Regions from separate parts of the Homo sapiens genome. Here regions 2 and 3 are each linked to region 1. The links are contacts of gene promoters, found by promoter capture Hi-C in blood cells and fetal thymus (Javierre and others, 2016). All regions are on one chromosome and are shown on one strand. Each heading gives the region's core, a stretch centred on a gene start or on the middle of the fragment in contact. The rest is flanking DNA. Distances are from core to core; before and after follow the strand shown. Region 1 holds the start of KIF9 (kinesin family member 9). Region 2 has its middle 39 kb from the start of PTH1R. Region 3 overlaps CCDC12 (coiled-coil domain containing 12).

What was found. Contacts are between HindIII fragments. The CHiCAGO score rates a contact against its expected background, and 5 or more counts as called.
Region 2: a fragment that was not itself captured here is called in contact with the fragment with the promoter of KIF9 in region 1 in 1 of 17 cell types (neutrophils); the score reaches 7.4 in neutrophils.
Region 3: a contact is called between a fragment that was not itself captured here and the fragment with the promoter of KIF9 in region 1, in 2 of 17 cell types (neutrophils and total CD8 T cells). The highest score is 9.9, in neutrophils.

Annotation. Positions count from the first base shown.
Region 1 is chr3:47,281,172-47,284,468 of GRCh38, forward strand. KIF9 (kinesin family member 9) reads right to left here and starts at 1,628. Exons shown (of 21, transcript NM_182902.4): 1 at 1,324-1,628. KLHL18 (kelch like family member 18) reads left to right here and starts at 1,773. Exons shown (of 10, transcript NM_025010.5): 1 at 1,773-1,923. The coding sequence starts at 1,795. RefSeq lists enhancers at 952-2,151, 1,367-1,756. The HindIII fragment of the contact is 6,231 bases long and covers 1-3,297 here.
Region 2 is chr3:46,914,919-46,918,215 of GRCh38, forward strand. No RefSeq gene overlaps it. Among named protein-coding and RNA genes, the nearest start is that of PTH1R, 39 kb to the left of the region's middle. The HindIII fragment of the contact is 4,758 bases long and covers 1-3,297 here.
Region 3 is chr3:46,939,848-46,943,144 of GRCh38, forward strand. It overlaps CCDC12 (coiled-coil domain containing 12), which reads right to left. Exons shown (of 7, transcript NM_001277074.2): 2 at 1,151-1,218. Among named protein-coding and RNA genes, the nearest start is that of CCDC12, 35 kb to the right of the region's middle. RefSeq lists enhancers at 1-451, 452-951. The HindIII fragment of the contact is 9,713 bases long and covers 1-3,297 here.

The sequences.
Region 1 (3,297 bases), core at 378-2,877:
ATGTGGGTCTATCTTCAGTCACTACTGAGAGAGTCCCAAGGGGCATATGATGTCACTCCCCTTCCATGACAACTCCAACCAAAGCCCACAGCCCTTCCAGGAGGACACTTGGTTTCCAGGTGCAAAAATCCACATCCAGCACCTCACCACACGCTTTTTTTGTTTTTGTTTTTGTTTTTTGTTTATTTGTTTTTGTGACAGGGTCTCACTCTGTCACCTAGGCTGGAGTGCAGTGAAACAATCTCGGTTCACCGTAGCCTCCACATCCTGGGTTCAAGCGATCCTCCCACCTCAGCCCCGCAAGTAGCTAGGACTACAGGCGTGCACCACCACGCCCGGGTAATTTTTGTATTTTTCGTAGAGACAGGGTTTCGCCATGTTGCCCAGGCTGGTCTTGAACTCCTGAGCTCAAGCAATCCGCTCACCTCAGCCTCCCAAAGTGCTAGGATTACAGGCGTGAGCCACGGCGCCCGGCCCCCTCCCTTTCTCCCTCAGGACCTTGTGGGGAATGTCTCTCCTTGGGGAACCACCCTTTGATATTTCTGGTATAACAAAGCAAGTCTCTGAATGGCCACCAGGAGACTTCTGTGTTAAGGCGCTCGAGGTTTCCTCATTTGTCTTTAGTGGGAATGAACAGAATTGGCAACAAGCAGCCATGAAGACTAGACAAGAGGAAAGGGAGCGTTTGGTGGGGTGGAAGGCACCAGGTGGGTCCCTATCTTCCAGTGCTCCCGTCCAGATGAGGGGCTGTCATGGGGAACCCTCATAGCTACCCGTAGCGGCAGCACCAACACCCGAATCCAAAACACTGGGTCCAACTGCACCTGGCCTTGGCTGAACAAGACTAGGATGCAGGCAAAACTAGACTTTCTCCTTTTTCTCACCCAATGTGCCGGACCCCCGCGTGGAGCCTGGGCGGCAGTGGGCTTTGGACCCATTCCGGTCCCTCTCTGGAGAGGTTTCCTCACCTGTAACACGAAGGGCTCCGACTGGTGATCCCAAAGCCCCCTCTAGTTCGAAAACTGACTAGTACGGAAGAGTCCAGACGACCTCTGGCTCCCTGCCTCACGGCCTCTATGTCCTGGACGCGACGTGGGACCCCTTTGTGGGACCAATGAACATTAGCTCCGAAGACCGTAAGCCGCGGTCAGGTTGAAAGGACTCCCGCGACGTCGAGCCCTCCTTCGCCTGGGTTTCAGAGATGAGCGACCCAGCTGGGAACCCCCAGATAAAGCGGTTTTTGGACCCCAGCCACTTTCAGCAGTCCGGGCGCACACCCTTTTCCCGTCTCCCCACTCCCACCGGCGAGCAGCCCCTGCTCACCGTTCACCAGGCAGCGACGCTCCCGGGACGCGACTGCCGCAACCGAAACCACCTGCACTCCCCACGCGGGGCTGCCTGGCTGTGTACATAGTCGCCATGGCAACGGGTCGCTTCCGGGGATTCCGGAAGTGTCGGGGTGGCGGAAATGAAGTCCGAGGTCCTACGTCGAGGATACGGGTGAGGTCATGGCCGAATCGGGAAGACGAGAGATGGGGCCGATTGATCTAGAAAGACTTCGGCGGATGCACATGCGAAGTCAAGGTCGAGATAGCGAGGGAACGAAGGCCGCACATGAACCAGGAAGCGGAGTGGCGGGGCTTCCGGCGCCGAGGAGATTCAACTACGGCGGCCGCGGAGGCCCGTCCGATTGCTGCTCCGCGCTCCGAGCGGCTGTCGGCGTGCGCTATCGCCCCGCCCTGGTTAGTGTCTAGCCGGCCGGCGAGGCCTGCGCAGTTGCAGCGGCCGGGGAAGATGGTGGAGGACGGCGCGGAGGAGCTGGAGGATCTGGTGCACTTCTCCGTGTCTGAGTTGCCTAGTCGCGGCTACGGCGTCATGGAGGAGATCCGGCGGCAGGGCAAGCTGTGCGACGTGACCCTCAAGGTACCGCGGACTGGGCGGCAGCGGGCTGAGGGAAAAGGGGTCGAGCGGGGAGTAAAAAGGGGCGGGGGACAGAGAAAGAGAGGTCTAGCAGGGAGAGGGGTGGGGAGAAGAGGTGTGAGGGGGGCCGAGTAGTGGGGAGAGAGGTGCCGAGCAAAAGGGGATCGGGGCCGAGTGGGGAGAGGAAGAGGACAACCTTTCAGCCCTTGAAAGGAAAGGTTGAGAGGTGCGCCGCTTAGGCCCTTGGAGTGGGAGACACGGGTGACAGCCTCCTTTTTCTGTCATGCAGACAAGAGAAAATGGACTTACCTTCTATGGAGGCAGGGGCGGTGGCCGGCTCCACATGCTGATGGGCACCACTGAAGAACCTTCTCTTGTCACTACAGATATTTCTTTGTGCCTGTCGAACTTGGCTGTGCTGTTCTAGAAGAGAAGGCTTCTCCTTAGGAATCATTGCCCTTAATTGTTGAATTACTACTTTGTCTCTTAAGAGCTTTTAAAATCTTCTCTGGAAAATTTTTGAGGTGGGAAGCCACCCTGCCCCATACTGGAAGGCACCACTCACCACCACAAAGGTCCCCGGGGCTGGGCCTGCTGGCCGCGTGGGGAGAGGGATGCTGACTGATATTAAGAGGGAAAGATATCTTAACCACCTGTTCCCCACCAGCATTCTGGTCGCTAGAGCCAGCCTCCCTCCTGTGCCTGGGTCTTTTCATGAGGAAGAGGCATGCTGTGCTGCTGCCTGGCCAAGCCACCGAACCATGTGGAGACGTCCGGTTGGGGAGATGATCAGTGGGGCTCCCTGTTGGGCTTTAGCTGGAAAGCTCTCAGCATCTGTGCGTGATCCCTGTTTAAAAAACAAACAGGGCAGGCATGGTGGCTCACACCTGTAATCCCAGCACTTTGAGAGGCGAGAGGATCACTTGAGTGGGGGAATTGGAGACCAGCCTGGGCTATGTAGGGAGACCCTGTCTCTACAAATAATAAAAAATTGTCTGGGCATGGTAGCCTGTGCCCGTAGTCCCAGCTACTCAGGAGGGTGAGGTGGGAGGATCGCTTGAGCCTAGGAGGTCAAGCCTGCAGTGAGTTGTAATCACACCACTGCACTCCAGCCTGGGCAACACAGCAAGATCCTATTTCTCCTATTTCTCTCTGTCTCTCTCACACACACACACACACACAAATAAATAAATAAAAGAAAAAATAAAACTATGCAGAGATTCTTTTGCTCTTCTTTTCTTTTTTCTTTTTTTTTTTTTTTTTGAGACGGAGTCTCGTTCTGTTGCCCAGGCTGGAGTGCAGTGGCGCTATCTTGGCTCACTGAAACTCTCTCTCCTGGGTTCAAGCGATTCTCCTGCCTCAGCCTCCCCAGCAGCT
Region 2 (3,297 bases), core at 453-2,952, 370 kb before region 1:
AATTAGGCACGGTAGCACACAGCCACAGTCCCAGCTACTTGAGAGGCTGAGGTTGGAGAGCTGCTTGAGCCCGGGAGGCGAAGGTTGCAGTGAGCTGAGATCGTGCCACTGCACTCCAGCCTGGGTGACAGAGAATCCATCTCTAAATAAAGATAGATAGATGATAGATAGATAGATAGATAGATAGATAGATAGATAGATAGATAGATAGAAAAAAAAATAAGCCTGTGTGTTGAAATACAGCATATACAGCAAGTTGTATAAAAATAAATACATATAGAGAATAAATTCCCATCACTCAAGCCAAGAAAAACACTTTGCCATTATCTCAAAGGGCCCCACTCCAGAGCTAACTACAAGCCTGAAGTTGACGATCACCACCTTGCTCTTCTGCCCTGGCCTTACCACCTGCGTGTGTCCTTACATTGTCTCACTCCGCCTGTTTGGAACGTCACACAAATGGCTCATACTCTATTTCTTCCGTGACTTGCTTCTTTCAACATCTATCCATTTGTTGCACATGACTGTAGCTCTTCTCACAGCTATGGAACATCACACTTTCAGAATGACAACTTATTATTACCACATTCTGGCTTTGATTTAGTGTGTGTGTGCACACATGTGCCCGTGCTATTACAAACAATGCTTCTACAAGCATTTCTGTCCCTGTCTCCTGGTGTACATGTGCAAGTTTTCTAGTGCACTAAGAGCGCAACTGATGGGTCCCAGCGTGCACATGTTCAACTTTCCCAACGTGGTTACACATTTCACACTCTTATGGCTGTGGGTGAGAGGTCCCACTGCTCCACAGTACAGTGGTGTAGCTAATGACACTTCTGAAAGTCTCCCTTGCCTGGCCTCACTCCTGCCACCTCCACTTTCTTTTGTTGATCCTGTGCTTGATAGAGCTTTTCTAGTCCCATTAATCTTTGTTTCTATTAATTTATGAGGCAGGGTCTCACTCTGTCGCTCAGAACTCCCAGGCTCACATGATCTCCCACCTCAGCCTCCCAAGTAGCTGCGACTACAGGCAGGCACCACCCCGCCTGGCTAATTTTTTTATTTTTTATTTTTGTAGAAGACGGAGTTTCACCATTTTGCCCAGACTGGTCTTGAACTCCTGGGCTCAAGCAATCTGCCTGAGACTCGAGCAAATTCAGCCTTCTCAAGTGCTGGGATTACAGGCATGAGCCACTGCACCCAGTCGGCTTCAGGTTTTTTTAAACTCAGCAAACTGAGTTTAAAGGAAAAAAAAAAAGAAAGAAAAGCAGTCTAATACCTTGCTATTACTGATATATCTGGATTCAACTACTCAATCCACCTTTTCTCTCTGCTTTCTTTTGGATAGTTACTTTTTTCCCATTCTGGTTTTTTTTTTTTTTTTTCCTCTCTCATCTCCTCTGAAAGTGGTACACTCTGTTTCTACTCTTTTCAGGTTACCCCAGAAATGTCAAGAGGCCTGTTTCCTAGTCTTATCCCTCTTCCTAAGTGAGCGTCTTCAAGGACTGTAACCCCAACCACCTCCTACCTCTGAACTTACATACCATTGTTGTTATGTATTCTAAATAGCCCCTGCTTTACCCCACAACACATTTTTGTTTTACAAGGTCAGTGCTTATTTACATTTATACTTCCTTTCTCTGGACTTTCCATCTGGGATTGTGCCCCTCAGTCTGAAAATATCCTTTATGATTTTTTTAAAAGGAGAATGCTTATTTCATTTTTAAAAAACAACTTTATACATATACAGCCCACCCATTAAAGTGTACAATTCAATGGCTCTTGGCATATTCAGCATATTCACAGATTTGTGCAACCACAATCACTTTTAGAACATTTTCATTACCCCAAAATAGATTTTCATTTAGTGAGAGTCTGCTGGTGACAGAATCCCTGACTTCGTTGGTCTAAAAACATCTTAGGCCAGGTGCGGTGGCTCAGGCCTGTAATCCCAGCACTTTGGGAGGCCAAGGTGGGCAGATCACTTGAGTTCAGGAGTTCAAGATCAGCCTGGGCAAAATAGTGAGACCCCATCTCTGCAAAAAAACAAAAAACACGTCTCATATTTTCCCTGAGTATGCAATTCTAGGATGACAACTTTCTTTCATTCCTGTTTACACTGGTTATAGCTGAGATATCTGCTGCTATGTTGCTCCTCAAAAGGTAGTATGTCCTTTCTCTCTGATTTTAAGGTATTTTCTTGGTCTTTGTGCTCTTTAATGTTATTACAATGTGATTAGGTATGTGGTAGTTTTTAAATAAGTCCACAAATTCTTACACAGTCCTCCCTTCAGGAAGTGGAAGCTAATTCTTCTAAGTGTCGACTGGGCGTAGTGACTTGCTTCTAACAAACAGAATGTAGCAGAATATCACTTCCAAGCCCAGATCATAAGAAAGCCCCACAACGCTCCCTCCTGCCTTCTTTCTTAGACTGCCACTCTGGGAAAGCCACCTGCCATGTCTTGAGAACACACAGGCCGATGGAGAGGTCCATGTGGCAAGACACAGGGGCCACCAATCAACAGCCCCATGAGTCATCTTGGAAACAGATCCTCCAGCCCCAGTCCAGCCTTCAGATGAGTGCAGCTTCACAACTGACCCCAAGCTAGACTTACCCAGCTAAGCCACTCCTGATTCCTGGCCCACAGAAACTGAGGTAATAAGTGTTTGTTATTTTAAGCCCCCGAGTTTTGGGTAATTTATGTGTAGCAACTGATGATTAATAAAAAGTGTAGAATTTTTTTAAGTAAATTTGCTTACTTAGAATAAACATACAAAAAGGGCATAAAACATGTATACAGTTCAATGAATATTCATAAAGTAAAAATACCTAATCATCACCCAGATGAAGAAACAGAACATTTGGATGTATAGTTCTTCCTATTAACCTGCCTGAGACTTACTGGTCTTCTTGAATCTGTGAATTGGTGATTTTTTCTGGAAAGTTCTCAGCCAGTTTTTAAATATTGCTTCTGCCTCATTTTCATTTTTTTTTTTTCCCACCTGGAACTCCGTCACTTTACGTTGGATCTCTTCATTCTACTCTCCATGTCTCTCAGCCACTTGCTTTACATTATCACTGTTTATCTTGCTGGGCTGCATTTTGGAAAACTTCAGATCTAGCTTCCCATTCACTAATTGTCTCTTCACCTTTGTCTAATTCACAGATACAAGGTTTTTAATTGCCATAATACACTATAGTGCTATATAGTCACTCCTTATCTATGGGGGGATGTTCCAAGACCTCCAACCCCAGTGGATGCCCGAAATGGTGGCGAGTACTGAACCCTATATATG
Region 3 (3,297 bases), core at 377-2,876, 340 kb before region 1:
TACTGGTGAAGGTGAAAAAAGGCTGTGGCATTAGGAAAGCCTGCTCTGGTGTGGCTGCCCAGCTTCCTCTAAAGAGCATTCCCTCCCCTCCCGCTCCCCCTGGGCAAAGCAGAGCCTAAGCCCATCAAGATCTACACCCCCCTGTGCCTGAAGGAAGCTGCTCAGAGCAAAGGAAATCAAGGCAACCTGTCCAGAAAGACACACAGTCTGGCCCCAGGAAGAGAGCCCCATCTCAGGGCTAGGCATGGGAGGGAGGACATGAGACCTCTGGAACTGCTGACACGGGAGTGGTAGTCAGACACTCTGCTCACAAAGATCAGCAGCACAGCTTTGCCTCGCTCACCCCACACACTGGTTCCGGCAACAGTTTCCAGGCTCCAGATTTTTGGGAGGCAAAGCAGCATCTGAGGCTCTGTGGAGGTTGCAGCCCTCAAGACTGCGGGGGAAGACCTTGTGCCTGCAATCACGAGGGAAGTGTACCCAAGACCCTCACGTGTGCTGTGTTTAGGCAACTTAAGTGGACCCAACCAGATGAGAGTATTCGACAAAATAAGATAAATACTACAGAGGGAAATGAAGCCAGAGGGACACAGACAACGAGAAAGGCGCCCTTTGAGCTGAACTCTATGTGAAGACCCAGACATCAAAGGTATAGGAGAGATGAGAAGGACCTCCAGGCTGAGAGGACGGACAAAAGACTGGTCAGGAAATGCTGAGTGGCCAGAGGTGGCAAGGGCCGACCACAAAGGGCTCTGGCTAGAGGGAAACCAGAGGAGGTTGGATGAGGCTAGATGGTCCAGGCAGAGCTTCACATGCCAAGTGCAGAAGGGGCACTTACTCAGTAGGCAATGGAGAACCACGCCACAAAAGGTGTATGAGAAGGGTAAAAAGGCATAATGTAAGGGCTAGAAAGAAAATGCTGGGGGCTGAGTAACAGCCAAATGGAAAATGAGGGAAAGGAGGCAGAGAAGGCCTCGACAAGGGCCTTCTGAGATGTTGAGATTTTAAGGTCTGAACAGGACAGCCATGGGCAGAAAGAAGAGGGGAGGGAACAGGGCAGACACTGAACAGAGTTGGGAGGACCCAGAGACTGGGAGACCGATGAGTGCTGGAGGAGAGAGCAGACCCTGGAGCTGCACACGGGCATTACCTGTGCTTCTCGCCTTCTTCCTCCTCTTCTCTGAGATGCTTGGTCTTTGGCTCCCCATCTTCCTTGTCCTGCAAAGAAAGGGAGAAAACCACCAGCTCAGTTGAAAGCTCCTACTTCCAGTCCACGTGGCCCAGGGAGCTAAAGAACAGGACATCTCAGAAGGGGGGCACCTGGCAGGGCCCAGCTTGGTGTCCCAGACTCCAACAGGGTACACGCCTGCTGCATCTCATAGGCACAACTGGAGCCTCATTGCCTGTGCAGAATTTAAAAATCCATAACTCTTGGCTGGGCGCGGTGGCTCATGCCTGTAATCCCAGCACTTCAGGAGGCCGAGGTGGGCGGATCTCGAGGTCAGGAGATCGCAACCATCCTGGCTAACACGGCGAAACCCCATCTCTACTAAAAACACACAAAAAAATTAGCTGGGCGTGGTAGTGGGCGCCTGTAGTCCCAGCTATTCGGGAGGCTGAGGCAGGAGAATGGCGTGAACCTGGGAGGCAGAGCTTGCAGTGAGCCGAGATCAAGCCACTGCACTCCAGCCTGGGCGACAGAGCGAGACTCCATCTCAAAAAAAAAAAAAAGCAACAAAAAAAGTCCGTAACTCCAGCCCAGTCCCAGGTACCTGGTAGCCCTTAGAGAACACTCACAGAAAGAGCTGGATGGCTTTAGGTGGTGAGAAATGCAGCCACTTGGTGCCATGGAGGGGCCATGCTGGCAGGCCAGCAGTCACCTTCATGGGTCTAGACAGAACCACCTGCTAAGCTAGGAAAGACTGGGGAAAGAAGTTACCAGCAACCAGGGCAGGATGAGAGCTCAGGCCTCCTGAGACACCTTTCAGGCCAGAGTCCTCTCCAGAAATACCTATTTGATTCGCTTTAGAAGTAACATGAACTAGGACCAGGCTTGCAACAAGATTCACTGCCTAGGCCTATGCTATATTCAGGGAGACAGAGGCAAGGGGAATTAGTCTGAAGTTTCCATGAAAATTTTCTTAATCTGGTTCTTTTGACTTCCCACCAACTGCACCTCTTTTTGAAGTCTACAGAGTCATGTTCATCTCAACCTTGACATGTTATGCTTGTTCTCAGGTGCACTGGGGGCCACAACAGAAGGAAACTGCCATACTGCTTCCACCTGAAGCAGAAAATGTCTTCCTGGACTTTATCCTTTATTATGTGATTACCTCTGTTAGGTCAGCCTGCCTGTGGACAAACTGACGCAGGGCGTGTGTGCACATGCACAAATTCGTGTGACCACACCTGGGGCCCAGGGCATGGACTGAGAGGCCCCAAGACAGAGCTGTCGTGGGTCTCCCTGCATGCCAGGGTTGGCACTCCAGAAGGTGACAATGCTCACTTCACTATGGCAGCGTCCTGCCTTTGACTCTCGCAGAGCAGTGTTCTAAGAGAGATCTGTGAGCTCCTTCCATTGGGAGCCTGCTCTGGTGGACACAGAATGCGCTGGAGCCTGCATATAAATTATAAGTAAAACAGCTACTTGAACTACCTTTCCTAGACATTTATTTATGCCATTGACAACTGCCTTCCTAAGAATGGTATCTGCTTTATGTGGAGACTGCAGGCATCAACCAGACCCTGCCATTCCTTGGCCACACAACCTCCGGGGAGCAGACTACCAAAACCAGGTCGGAGGCCTGGCCCAGAGAAAGGCTTCTGTCATGAGAACAGATCAACATGCCCCCCACCCCAACTCAGGGCAGCTCATCTCATGGCAACGAGGCAGCGAGAACAAAATAACTGACCAAGTGACAGCAGCTACACGAGAGAGGTCAACATGGAACGTGGTTCTTGGGCGATGGGTGAGAGGTTTCCTACTGAGAGATGGGCTGGGCAGAATTGGGTGATACAGCATAGGGGGAGAGAAGTGGGAAGGGCATTCCCGGTGGGAAGCAGAGCTTGAACAAAGGCAGGGTGTGGTCTGAAGAGCATGCAGGTGACTGGGGTTGGGGGAGGGGGTGACAATGATTGCCAGGTAAGACAGTCAAGGCAGGCAATGGCCGAACACAGAGGGCTCTGGCCGGTGTTCTTAAGCAATGGAGAAACCGAGGAGAGACTGGAGAGAGTTCACTGACCTCTGCTGGGGAAGGCAGGCCCTGGGGTGGACAGGCAGATGCTTGGTGATGGCCA